2 separate regions of the Homo sapiens genome follow, and region 1 is linked to region 2. Evidence: promoter capture Hi-C in 16 types of primary human blood cells and fetal thymus (Javierre and others, 2016). All regions are on one chromosome and are shown on one strand. The core of a region is centred on a gene start or on the middle of the fragment in contact, and the rest is flanking DNA. Distances in the headings are between cores, read along the strand shown.

Region 1 (6,440 bases), core at 1,093-3,592, 3.5 Mb after region 2:
GTGATGCATGGTATAAGGACCTTCATGAGCTCTTAGGATCAGAGTTGAATACGATACTGAGATGAATACTAAGGAAAAAATAAATCTATTAAATATATACTTCTAAATTACCTGAGAAGTTTCTGTTTTTGTTTGGTTGTTAGTGACTTTAAAAATTCAACTTCTGGATCTTCTTCACCCTCACTTGCAACATACTCCTGAGTCAACAAAGATATCATTAAATTGCTAGATTTCAACACAAGGTAGTTAGTAGATAAAAAAGAAAACATTTATAAATAAGTTTTGTATCAGGGACACACTGTAGATGAATATGATATTTTGGATTGGGAAGTGGGAGAGAATTAAAAAATTTTTTTGTAGTCTCCCTGCCGAAGTGGATCATACAGCACTAAGAGGTTAACATGACTGCTTTGCCAGCATTAGGAAACTTTTCCAGGAAAAGGATGATAGACACACACAGATAAAATGTTTAGAGCATGACTTCCATTCTCTATCTCTTGAATGTTAACTCTTGCCAGTTTAAATACTTTATTTTTAATTTAATGAAATATAAAAAAGAAGATTATGAGTTTTACAGGAATGTCAAAATATCCACAATTTTAGCTTTTATTATAATTTCAACAGCACATTATCAAATATATAATAATATAGCCCTTCAAACTCAATCATTTTCTGGATCTATGTATAGTTTAATAAAATAAATAAGTTTAAAATATTTTCTACAATTTTTAGGAGTTTTTACATACTTCTAACCATTGGTTCTATTTAATGTCATATCAGGGGTAAGTTAGCAGGAAGGAAAAACCAACAACCTCATCACCAGTTCAGTTAGATATTTTATCCACATAAACTCAGAGGAGCAGTTTCATTTATTAAAATACAGGTTTATAAACAATTTCTCATTTAGATTAAAATAATAAAGCAAAATCAAAACACATTTTGGGCATTTTCTTTGCTCTATCTTACTTTCCTATGGATATATGCATATTGGAAAACATTAAGTAGCAATTCACAAGCAATCACATTTAGATTTATAGACATTTTCAGCTTACTGATAAAAAGATCATTACCTGTGATGGATCATTTGCGGTCAAGTTTCTCCCCAGTACATTTCGTTTCAGTGCAAACCCACTGTTTCTCATCTCCGCTATTAGCTCCGAGGGGTGCATCGATGGCCCTGTTCACAAAAATCACAGTTTGAATGTATCATTTATATCTCTCTACCTTTTTCGGACTCCACAGTAGGAATGCAGTTGAAGCTTTGTTAAGTAAAATCACAGCTAAATCAACTCAATAATCTTCTGCTGAGCAAATAATCAGATATGATTTTCTAAAACAGCAGTCTGGAGATTCAGAATAGAAAATAATTGCATTTTTCTTTACGTGCAAGGGGAGTCTTCTTATGTAACTTTGTCATATTGAAAAAGATACATTTAGATGTTATCTGGTTGGCAGTTTTTAGTATAAAATCAAAGCAAAATATTATAATAAAAAACTACAATTAAACTTTTAGTAGTTATTCTCTCAGTAAGAGTTCATTTAAAAGATGTATTTTTAAAGGTACATGAGGAATTTATCATCCTTATTTCCAATTCAAAATTCCTCATCCTTATTTGTCAAATAACAATACTGAATACATTGCCAAGTGGTTGCTAATCACACACACACACACACACACATACACACACACACACACCTATGGGTAACCACCAAGTACTTTAATTAATCTTGCTTTTATTCCCAGATTTCAAAATTTTTAATTACTAGCTTGGGTTGCTAACAAGCAGTTTTAGGCTGGCTATTGGTATGTATGTTTTATATTTTTTTACACTACACTTCCACTTTTGCAAAATCTCAGACTGAAAAGTGAGCTTTTTGTTTCCCAAATATGAACTAACAATAAATTTTAAAAATTTTCAGCTGGGAGTGGTGACTCATGCGTGTAATCCCAGCATTTTGAGAGGCAGAGGCGGGAGGATCACTTGAGCCCAGGAGGCCAACTTGGCCAACATGGCAAAACCATGTCTCTAAATAAATAAATAATTTTTTTTTAAAGGTTTGCCCCCTGCCCTCAAACATAAGGTTTATGTAAGGTAAGAGAGACTCTTATCTCATTTTGTATATTCCTGTTTCATTTTGTTTTCCCTGCAGATAGCAAACTAATGACAACATTTCATGGCAGCTATTTAAAGTTGCCAGCCTAAATCACCTACACTGGCTTAAATGACGTACTCCAGCTGATGTGTCTGTCACTTAGGGAAGAATGAGACAGTTACTGCCAAAAAGGAGTTCATACGGGAGGGTAGGGGGATAGAAAAATATTCAGAAATGAGTTCTTTAGTTTGCTGGTTGAATACTTTGTCTATTTCTTTTTACTGCTTTGTTGGTCTTTTACCACTTATTTGCGCACTCACCTGCATATTATCATGGAAAGCAAAAGGCAATCAGTTCAAATTTGTTTACCTGTCAATAGCAGATGTGGTTAAAAATTTGGTGAGAAAAACTCAGTTATAAGATAATATATTTTACTGGACTTTCCAGGCTTTACCATTCCATTCATATTGCGAAGAACAACTGTAAGTTTGCCCTAGGTACTAGGGAGATGATGGGGAAAAACTGTCTATTATTGGAGTATGGGGGAAGTTATTAATGATGTCATAGTTTTAGGAAAAAAAGCCTTATTTAGTTAAAAACAAACAAAAACACCTGTCTTATATTAATATTTCATTTTAAACCAAGAGGGTTTTTAATTTTTTTCTTCTATACAAAATGTTTAATTCCTATGTATTACTTTAATGGCCCTTTAATTATTCAGTCTGGTTGTTAACATTGATAATACAATCTTAAATAAAATTGAATTTTAAATATTAATACTGGTTGCCTCTAAATGGCATAGAGGTGCTCATACAATTAAGAGCTTTTTGTGTGTGTGTGTGTGAGATGGAGTCTTGCTCTGTTGCCCAGGCTGGAGTGCAGTGGCACGATCTCGGCTCACTGCAACCTCCGCCACCTGGGTTAAAGCAATTCTCCTGCCTCAGCCTCTGGAGTAGCTGGGATTACAGGCAACTGCCACCATGCCTGGCTAATTTTCGTATTTGTAGTAGAAACGGGGTTTCACCATGTTGGTCAGGCTGGTCTCAAACTCCTGACCTCGTGATCTGCCAGCCTCAGCCTCCTAAAGTGCTGGGATTACAGCCGTGAGCCACCGCGCCCGGCTCAATTAAGAGCTTTAAATGAATAATAGAATGTTTACTTTGGTGGCTTCTCAAATTTCACATGTAGGAACTTAATTTTATAAAGTAGAAAATGTCTCTTCTGAAGTGTCAAAACTACATTTCCTTGTCAACAATTTTATTAGATATCGAATGAATTCAGACACCAAACTTGTTAATAATTAGAATAAAAACCACTCCAATAAAGGGTCACAAAGCTTGGCCATCATGATGAGAGGTTATACTAATTTCATCAGTTTTCATCACAAGATGGGTAATTTTAATAAGATGTTATAGAAAGCATGCCTTCTTTACAGTACTTCCAACTATGTCAAGAAAATGATGTATTTCCCCAGTGTTACAGAGATTATACAGACTATTAAACAATCATTACTCTTCTAGCATTTATATTTTTCAAAAATCCCAACTGAAAACTCTGTGTAGTATATAAATTTAGCACACTTTCACAATGTATGACTGTAAATAGAGTGCTTAGTGAAGTGCTCGACAAATAGTACTTAATAAAGAGTAACAACTATTATTTTTACCAGTACCTATTCAACTTTCTTATATAAGAAATTGTCTTTTTATAAGATATATTATATATGTACATATATTACTTATATATGTACATATATATTTTATATATTATATATAATATATATTATATGATATATATAATATATTATATAATATAATATATAAAATATATATAATATATATTATATTATATAAATTATATTATATATATCATATAATATATTTTATATATTATATAATATATATTATATTATATATATTTTATATATTATATTATATATTATATATATCATATAATATATATTATATTATATATTTTATATATTATATAATATATATTATATATTTTTATATATTATATAATATATATTATATATTTTATATATTATATAATACATATATTATATATAATATAATATATATTATATAATATATATTTTACATATGTATATATATTATATATATATATATTTTTTTTTTTGGTAGAGACAGGGTTTTGCCATGTTGCCCAGGCTGGTCTTGAATGCCTCAGCTCAAATAATACACCTGCCTAGGTCTCCCAAAGTACTGGGATTACAGTTGTAAGCCACTGCACCCGGCCACTATCCAAATTCCATGACTATCTTACGGTACTTTTCATAATACAAAAAAATGCTCTTAGTAGTAATACTTTTCACAATGCAGTCTTATTCACATTTTTTTTATACTTAAACCTTCTCCTATCAACCAAAGTTCTGAGTTTAAAGTTCTAGGTTTAGGAGATGAAACAAGTCAGGTTTAATCAAGATATATTTAGCAAGTATCTTTCTACTTTCACATTATTATGACAGAGGCTACGTAGAGTTACACTGACAGAAATGACTCCAGATCTTTTGAGAACTCAAAATTTGGTTGATAAAATAGATGATTACAGATACGTTGATAAAATAGATTACACAAATATGTTCAAATGTAAAATAACTACTTTTATGTATGGTGCCTTAATAATTTCAATTATAGCTGGAGTTGGATCTTAAAAATTGTTTGGCTTATTCTTAAATTTGTCATGGTAGAATAATACTAGAGAATTCAGAAAGAAGGCATTTGTTCTAAAATGCAGATTTGTGAGGGCTCCTTTCTAGATCATCTCAGCCAAGCCTTCACAGCATTGAAAACCAATGTTCCCACTTAGAAAAGCAGGTCCACTGAAGAAACTGCTTTCAACATTCATTTATTTTACAAACTTTTCTTTGCTGTGATATGGATAAGTATCAAAATACCAATTGTGTACAGTTCCATGTTCTGATTAGACCCAGGCTCTACTAGAAAAATACCATGAAATCGAGTCTCAGGAAAGAAAAAATTCCTAGAAGGTAAATTATGCTATACAAAATTATGTGTGTAAAGCGCTTAATCTACTCACTAAGAGTATTCATTTTTACAGAACAAAAACAATGAAAGGTAAAAAAAGAATGTCCTGTTGTAAAATAGGTATTTTATCAAAGAATAATATATAAACTCAAAAGTTCTGGCTATGAGGAAATGGCATACAACTGACTCCACAATTATAGTATGGCAGTCCCAGGGGAATGCCACAAATGGCATAGGAGGGAGACTAAAGCTGAAGTCAAAGACACTTGTGTTTCACTGCAAACACTAGGTCCATCTGCTCCATTCGAAGTTCATCATTCTTTTCTTTAGCCAGGATGGTCTTGATCTCCTGACCTCGTGATCCACCCACCTCGGCCTCCCAAAGTGCTGGGATTACAGGTGTGAGCCACCACACCTGGCCCATCATTCTTTTCAAACAATGCATTATCACCTACAATTTTATGGTATTAAGTAGGAGAAAAGGGGGCAGTGAGTTGTAGGTTAGGTAAGGCTGAATTAGAAATGCCTTTCCTGGCCAGGCGCAGTGGCTCATGCCTGTAGTCCCGGCACTTTGGGAGGCAGAGGCGGGTGGATCGCCTGAGTCCAGGAGTTCAAGACCAGCTTGGGCAACATGGTGAGACCCTGTCTCTACAAAAAATACAAAAATTAGCTGGCCGTGGTGGCGCACATGCCTATACTCCCAGCTACTAGAGAGGGTGAGGTGGGAGGATCACTTGAACACAGGAGGTTGAGGGTGCAGTGAGCCTGTGATCTCACCACTGCACTCCGGCCTCAGCAACAGAGTGAGATCCTGTCAAAAGACAGACAGAAAAAAAGACAGACGGGAAGGAAGAAGGGAAGGAAGAAAGAAAGAAAGAAGAAAGGAAGGAAGGAAGGAAGGAAAGGAAGAAAGAAAGGAGAAAGAAAGGAAAGAAAGAAAGAGGGAGGGAGGGAAGAAGGAAGGAAGGAAGAAGGGGAAGGGGAAGGAAAGAGGACAGACTGACTGACTGGCCTGTCTCTCCTTCTCCCAAATTTAATATATTATGTACTTAATTTATAGGATGCCACTGTTGGCTGAAACTAAATTGCTACCCTAAAGTGAATATAGTTTTGCTTCCTATTACAGTGATGATCTATTTTTTTTCCCTTCTCATTGTGTGTGTGTTTTAATTTAACTTTATACTACGGAAAATTGCAAACCTACATCACATAGCTTCAACAATTAACAATATTTTGTCATTCTTGTCTTAGCTATTACTTCCAAATTTATTTTTTTCATAGAATATTTTAAATAAAATCTCAACCTCAATACCTTTATTATGCTTCTCAACATTGATA
Region 2 (6,858 bases), core at 1,639-4,138:
CTCCCTTCCGGGCCACCCCTCATCACCGGTTCGAGTCCCCGGAGAGGATATCTTTTTTCCACCCCCATTATCCCAAGAATCCTCCCCCAGGAATGATAAAAGATTAAAGGAAGAGTGAAAGACATAAACAAAAATATAGGTTTCAAATGTTGTTTAGAGCCGAATGACAACCACGGCCACTCTTAGTTCAAATTCCTACCGGAGAGAAGAGCAGTGGGCGAAATACCTCACCCCCCAACTAGGCAAAACAAACAGCAGTTACTGTCAGGAGGGAGGAGGGCTGGGGCGAGTCTGGTGGGTTGGCCCATAGCTATTGGCGGAAGCAAACGAAACAGAGGCATGGGGACCAGAAGGACGGGCGCTGTCCTTCGTGCTGAAAGATCTATGCCCTACCTCAAAACTCAGTAATCTGGATGGAGTGGAATTCCAGGCCTTCAATTCATTACCATTCCTGCTGTGCCCAAGAGTTCGAGTTGGAGGAGATCATTGAAAATTAAATCAAATTTATGAAGTTTCTAAGTGCGCTCCTCTCCCTGCCTCACCGGAATGTCCACTCCCGGCGTGCAGGATAATATAAACCGCAGGGACAATGCAAGCTCCAAAAAATAAGTGCTTGGCACATAGTAGGGGATTAATAAATATTCGTTTAATCAATTACTGCTAATATTCAATTAAACATTCTAAACAAGGACGGACAAAAGTCTTCATTCCTCCCCTACTCACCATAAAGGAGAAAGAGAGGGATGTCCTCGAAGCTGGACGGACTCAGCTTCAGCTTGCGTTACCTAGCCTTGCAGGAGATTCCTTCTCCAACGAGATTATTTCATTGGCTAAAACGTTAGGGGTGTTTTGAACTCTGGGGTCAAAGGAGGAAGTGGTTGGAAATGTCTCAATCTCGTGCCACAGGTGAAGTAAACGAATCTTCCTTTCCAGGGAATCACGGGTTTTGGGAAAAGGTTGAGGCGAGCGGGCGTCTATGCTGGACAATGAAGAACGAGGGGCACCGGGAGATGTGTTGCCTCCTCCTTCCTGTCTCCTGCCCCGTGCGTCTTGAATGATTTAGCACTGGCACCTGGCTCCCTGATTGGTGCGAGCGTCTCGTTTAGGGAAGGCTCTAGGAGGGCCGGTGGATGGAATTCCGAGCTTCACCTGGTTGTATGCCGCCCACTTCAAGCAGCGCAGAGCAGCTGCCGGTTGAGTGGTTTGGGGGGACGTTTCCTACGTGGAGCAGACACCCCCAGCCTGTCCAGCCCCAAGCCTCAGTGCCCGGGGCTGCAGTCACCGCGCGCCCCGCCGTTTAGGATGTTTTTTGTGTCCTTAAAAAGTGCCGGGGATTTCATCGTCAGGTGGAGACAAGGCGACAAAACAGTAGTTTCTTTAGTACCAAAGGCAACGCGATTATTTCAAACCCCACAGCGAGATCCCTCTTGCTGATCAGGCCATGTCTGCCCAGGGCGGACCCTTCGATCTCCCTTATGGAACTCTCGGTAATTTATAATATTTTTGTGTGTGTTTCCATTGTGTTGTGGTGAAAGGCGATAAGGCATTCAAAGAAAACGGACGGGCCTCCGCTGAACCAGTGAGGCCCCAGACGTGCGCATAAATAACCCCTGCGTGCTGCACCACCTGGGGAGAGGGGGAGGACCACGGTAAATACCAGTAAAGGAATCACTGCCTACACGGTGTCACCCAGACACGCACAGACATCAACATTTTTGCCCTAAAGAAAAAAACTGGGGGAGAAGAAAGGGGAGAACTTAAACTAGTGACAGGGCGGTGAGGGAAGGCATGAAGAGGCAAGCCGGCGCGTAACCGTCTGGCCAGCAGCTCCAGGTGTGGGCTCCGCTCGGGCGCTGGCGGAGAGACCCGGGAGCGCAGGGCCTCTCCGTCTCTGGGCTCTTGGCGCCCTCTGGTGGGAATTTCTCTTTCAACGCATTTTTACGGCGAGGGGCTTCTCCCAACGCAGCGGTTCTTTTAACTACGCCTAAATATTGCAAAGGGAGAATCCTTAAAGCGCGTGAAATCGAAGGGGGAGCGGGCCAGGGCAAGGGGGGCTGGTCCGCCCCTTCCGGGCACCTCTGTGCTCGGGTGCCCCATGCGCGTGCAGCGGCGCTCGTGCGTGTCATCAACCTTCAAACGTGATTAATCAGGAGGCCTTCTTTTCCCATCACCAAGGGGGCCAAAGCGAGGAGCGAGCGCATAGCAAAAGGGACGCGGGGTCCTTTTCTCTGCCGGTGGCACTGGGTAGCTGTGGCCAGGTGTGGTACTTTGATGGGGCCCAGGGCTGGATGAGGAAACTGTAATTCCTCCATGGTCTAAGAGGTCTCCCCTCATTTCTGCCTCCTTTGCGGTTACAACAATCCCAGCTCCGTAGAGAGCCAACGAGGACACGACCCAAAGCGCGCTTTCGCTCAAGGAAGCGTCGCAGGGTCACAGATCTGGGGGAACCCCGGGGAAAAGCACTGAGGCAAAACCGCCGCTCGTCTCCTACAATATATGGGAGGGGGAGGGGAAATGGGAGAGGGGAAAGGAGGGGAGGGAAGAAGAAACGCTCAGAAAGGCAGAATTCTTCGTAGGAATTATCTTTTCCCTCCTCTCACCCGACAGCCTGCCTATTTCCAAAGGAAAAAAAAAAAGCGTGTTGAGTACGTTCTGGATTACTCATAAGACCTTTTTTTTTTCCTTCCGGGCGCAAAACCGTGAGCTGGATTTATAATCGCCCTATAAAGCTCCAGAGGCGGTCAGGCACCTGCAGAGGAGCCCCGCCGCTCCGCCGACTAGCTGCCCCCGCGAGCAACGGCCTCGTGATTTCCCCGCCGATCCGGTCCCCGCCTCCCCACTCTGCCCCCGCCTACCCCGGAGCCGTGCAGCCGCCTCTCCGAATCTCTCTCTTCTCCTGGCGCTCGCGTGCGAGAGGGAACTAGCGAGAACGAGGAAGCAGCTGGAGGTGACGCCGGGCAGATTACGCCTGTCAGGGCCGAGCCGAGCGGATCGCTGGGCGCTGTGCAGAGGAAAGGCGGGAGTGCCCGGCTCGCTGTCGCAGAGCCGAGGTGGGTAAGCTAGCGACCACCTGGACTTCCCAGCGCCCAACCGTGGCTTTTCAGCCAGGTCCTCTCCTCCCGCGGCTTCTCAACCAACCCCATCCCAGCGCCGGCCACCCAACCTCCCGAAATGAGTGCTTCCTGCCCGCCCTAGTCCCTGCTCTCCACGGGTGCGCTGCGCAGGGACCCCCCCCCCCCCGCCTCCCTCGTCACTCTTCTTATCCCTGCCCTCCGGATTCACGCCCCGGGGAAGCACGGAGGCTGAGGCTCTAGTTGAAGTGGGGCAAGAGCGATTTTCCCTTGAGCTTCCATGCTGCGAGCGCCTGTCCCTCCAAAGGGCGCCTGGGCAGCAGCAGCCGAAGGCGCTACTAGGAACGGTAACCTGTTACTTTTCCAGGGGCCGTAGTCGACCCGCTGCCCGAGTTGCTGTGCGACTGCGCGCGCGGGGCTAGGAGTGAGGTCGGAGGGAGGGTGTGGAGGCGATGGCCGGTGGGCCCTTCTCTGTGGGGTCCTCGATCTACCCAGATTAGCCCGCAATCTCTCTGTCCCGGGGCCTTCGGGCGCCATCGCGCCAGCGCCGAGAGTCGAGCAGGGGCGCCGCGCAAGATCTTTGTCCGCCGCCTCCTGCGCGCTGCGCGCAAGTTCGTTTCCCCGGTGACGTTCCCCATGCTTACTTACCCCACCCTCTCTGGATCTGTACCGCGAGAAATCTGGGGTCCTCAGGGGGCTAGGTAGAGGAGAAACGCTGAAACCGGACCGAAACCTCGCCCTAGGCTTAGCGATGGCTAAAAACCGGCTGGGATAAGAGGGAGGCAAGCAACATTCCGACTCGCTGCTTTCTGGCTGTCTGGAGTGCAAGGTGACTGTGGTTCTTCTCTGGCCAAGTCCGAGGGAGAACGTAAAGATATGGGCCTTTTTCCCCCTCTCACCTTGTCTCACCAAAGTCCCTAGTCCCCGGAGCAGTTAGCCTCTTTCTTTCCAGGGAATTAGCCAGACACAACAACGGGAACCAGACACCGAACCAGACATGCCCGCCCCGTGCGCCCTCCCCCCGCTGGCCCACACGCCGGCTGCTGAGTGCCCAATGGGGCTTGTAGCGGCTCGGCTGGAAAATCGCTCACTGAGCGCTCCCCTGTGCTCCTAGCCTAGTCCCCCACACCCTTGCGTCTTGTACTGGCCTTGGACCCCCACCCCGACCCCGACCCCGCCTCGTCTCGGCGCTTCACTCCAGGTCGCGCCGATGCACCGCCAGACTCGAGAGCGGCCCAGGGCTACGCTCCCTGCGCCCCAGTACCGGAGCTAGCGCGCACGTCTCCTCCGCTGCCCCCACCCCTGCGCACCCCTACCAGGCAGGCTCGCTGCCTTTCCTCCCTCTTGTCTCTCCAGAGCCGGATCTTCAAGGGGAGCCTCCGTGCCCCCGGCTGCTCAGTCCCTCCGGTGTGCAGGACCCCGGAAGTCCTCCCCGCACAGCTCTCGCTTCTCTTTGCAGCCTGTTTCTGCGCCGGACCAGTCGAGGACTCTGGACAGTAGAGGCCCCGGGACGACCGAGCTGATGGCGTCTTCGACCCCATCTTCGTCCGCAACCTCCTCGAACGCGGGAGCGGACCCCAATACCACTAACCTGCGCCCCACAAGTAGGTCCCGCCCCAATTTTCTATCAAATGAACTGCAGGGAAGATGGGGGCGCTGGGACGTCGGGAGGCTGAGCTGGCGGAAAGGGAAGGGGGAGCGCGGAGATAATGGAGGCTGGGAAATAAATGGGGCTCTGACCCCGTCCCTGCCAGAGGTCATTCGGCTGTCAGGGACGCTAGGTGACTCCCAGGGCACCGGAAAGCGAGGACCACGCAAGGTCCGAGCAGCGGCGATCGTTGAGGGCTTCGCGGAGGAGGAGGGGCGCGCAGCCAGGGTGTTGTTTTTATTCTGTTGTGTGTGGTTTCTTTGCTCCGTGGGACGACAGGGGTCAGCGCAGGGGGCGGAATGAAGAGCTAGGAGCCCCAGCAGGAATAAGAGTTTTCAGTCCCCGGCTTTCGTTGAGCCAAGATCTGACCTCCTCCTTTCCCCCTGGGCTGTGTTCAAAGTCTATAATCAGCGGAAATTTCGACGTTAATTGCAGCTTTTAGAAAACTCAAGGTCCCTAATTGCTCCAAATTTGCATCAAGCTATTGACGAGTTAGGGAGAAGTCAGGGGCGGGAAAGGTGCATAAAACTGAGACTGAGCCTTGACATTTCATACAATTAATTACATCTCAGAGAAATAAATAAATAAATAAATAAATAGGGGAGCGGGCGGCATCCTGAGTGGCAAGAGATGGGGAACTGGGAGGGGGCAAGAAGCTTTATCATAGAGAGGAGAGAGCACCTCTCTCCTTATCCCAGGCAAGAGATCTGTCAGGAGGTGACATGTCCCGAAAAGAGAGAAAGAAAAGAGACACCAGATAAAAGAGGGGGGAGGATTTATGCTTCCCTGTCTTAAGTGCGACAGGCTCCTCAACCCATTTCCAGAATCTATCTTTAATTTTATTTCCTACCTCTGTAAAGGCTTGAGATGAGAAAATTGTTTTTCTTTTTCCTTGTTGGAGTGAAGAAGTGTCTCCTGACCCCACCCCCCTAAAAAAACTTATCAGCTTCAGACTGTAAGTGTTCCCACTCCCCCATTTATTTATTTCTGAGATGTAATTAATTGTATGAATTTCCAGAATTTGTATACAGAAAGGGCTTAAGAAGGATAGTGTGGTTACAGGGAGTGCTTATTGATGCGCTTTTATGGCACTTTATATTTGAGAAAATAAGTATCCTCATCAATGAAGTGGGGATTATTACCGGAAAGCCCCTTTAGACGCTGGCATTGGCTCCCGGGCAGGAGGTCTCGTGTTAAGTCCTCAGGTCTCATTCCAATTTCCTTTGCAGCTCCCTCTTCCCGCCACCCAGGAGGGATACAATTACCCACACAACAAAGAGGGCCTCGGGAGAGTCGCCAGCCCTGGTAGCATATGAACCAGGCACCGGCGTTGGAGCTGGCCAGGGCAGGGCGGGAGGAACGCGAGGCCTGCGCGCCTTTGTGTGGTGCTTTCGCCTTGATGGATTTCTTTTCTGACGCTTTCCACATTTCCCGCTCCCTTTTGCCGCCTGGGGGTGGGGGTGGGGGGTTAGCGGGCAGTTGTGTTAATTTGCCCTCCACTCCCGGCGCCCTTACGGAATTCCCGGTGGCCGCCAGTCGCCGGCGCAAATGCCAAGTCACCGGTAGGAGACACAACAGAGGCGATGACCTGAATCCGCACGTGGCCTGGTTCGCCTGGAAGCTGCCAAAGCGAAGGCAAGAGAGCCCGGGACCCTGCTGTAAAACAGCAAGCAGCACGTGTCCCAGGCACACTGTTGCGGGCCCTTAGCCTAGCTACGCATCCGCACCCCAGGCTTCAAAGGCGCGCTGGGCGCTCTATCCACTCTCACCCTCCCTTGCAGACAATACCTTTGCCCGCCCAGCTGGCTCCACTTCTTTGCCCCTTTAGAGTCTCCTGGGAGGTGGCGTTAGTGCAGGCAACCTAAGGCACTCTCTTGTTCCAGAAACCCTTGGGTGGGGCTTGGAGCCCTCCTTGTCCCCAACCACTAGGTCTTCCCGACCCTTGCTACATCAAAGGGGCTCTCTCGCTTGCTCTCCCCGTCTCCCTTTCCCTTTCTTTCATTGCAACCCCCAATTTTGAAAGGCAGTGCAATGTGTCTGAACTCCAACTTCCCTGTTGATTGACCTTGGAAAACTCATGTAACCTCTCTGAGCCTCGATGTTTTTTCTTTGTCAAATGACTCTTAGATCAACACTCCT

The links. The method cuts DNA at HindIII sites, captures the fragments that hold promoters and counts their contacts. A CHiCAGO score of 5 or more calls a contact.
Region 1: a fragment that was not itself captured here is called in contact with the fragment with the promoter of GAD1 in region 2 in 1 of 17 cell types (total B cells); the score reaches 7.1 in total B cells.

What each region holds. Positions count from the first base shown.
Region 1 is chr2:174,350,549-174,356,988 of GRCh38, forward strand. CIRSR (corepressor of RBPJ and splicing regulator) reads right to left here. Exons shown (of 10, transcript NM_004882.4): 8 at 1,071-1,177; 9 at 112-197. Among named protein-coding and RNA genes, the nearest start is that of SP9, 19 kb to the left of the region's middle. The HindIII fragment of the contact is 2,171 bases long and covers 1,258-3,428 here.
Region 2 is chr2:170,813,999-170,820,856 of GRCh38, forward strand. It overlaps GAD1 (glutamate decarboxylase 1), which reads left to right and starts at 2,889. Exons shown (of 17, transcript NM_000817.3): 1 at 2,889-3,050; 2 at 4,531-4,675. The coding sequence starts at 4,594. GAD1-AS1 (GAD1 antisense RNA 1) reads right to left here and starts at 4,653. Exons shown (of 4, transcript NR_197761.1): 1 at 4,388-4,653; 2 at 3,720-3,917; 3 at 2,856-3,034; 4 at 625-2,487. RefSeq lists a silencer at 2,704-2,783 and enhancers at 2,871-3,040, 4,280-4,803, 4,804-5,326. The HindIII fragment of the contact is 11,655 bases long and covers 1-5,373 here.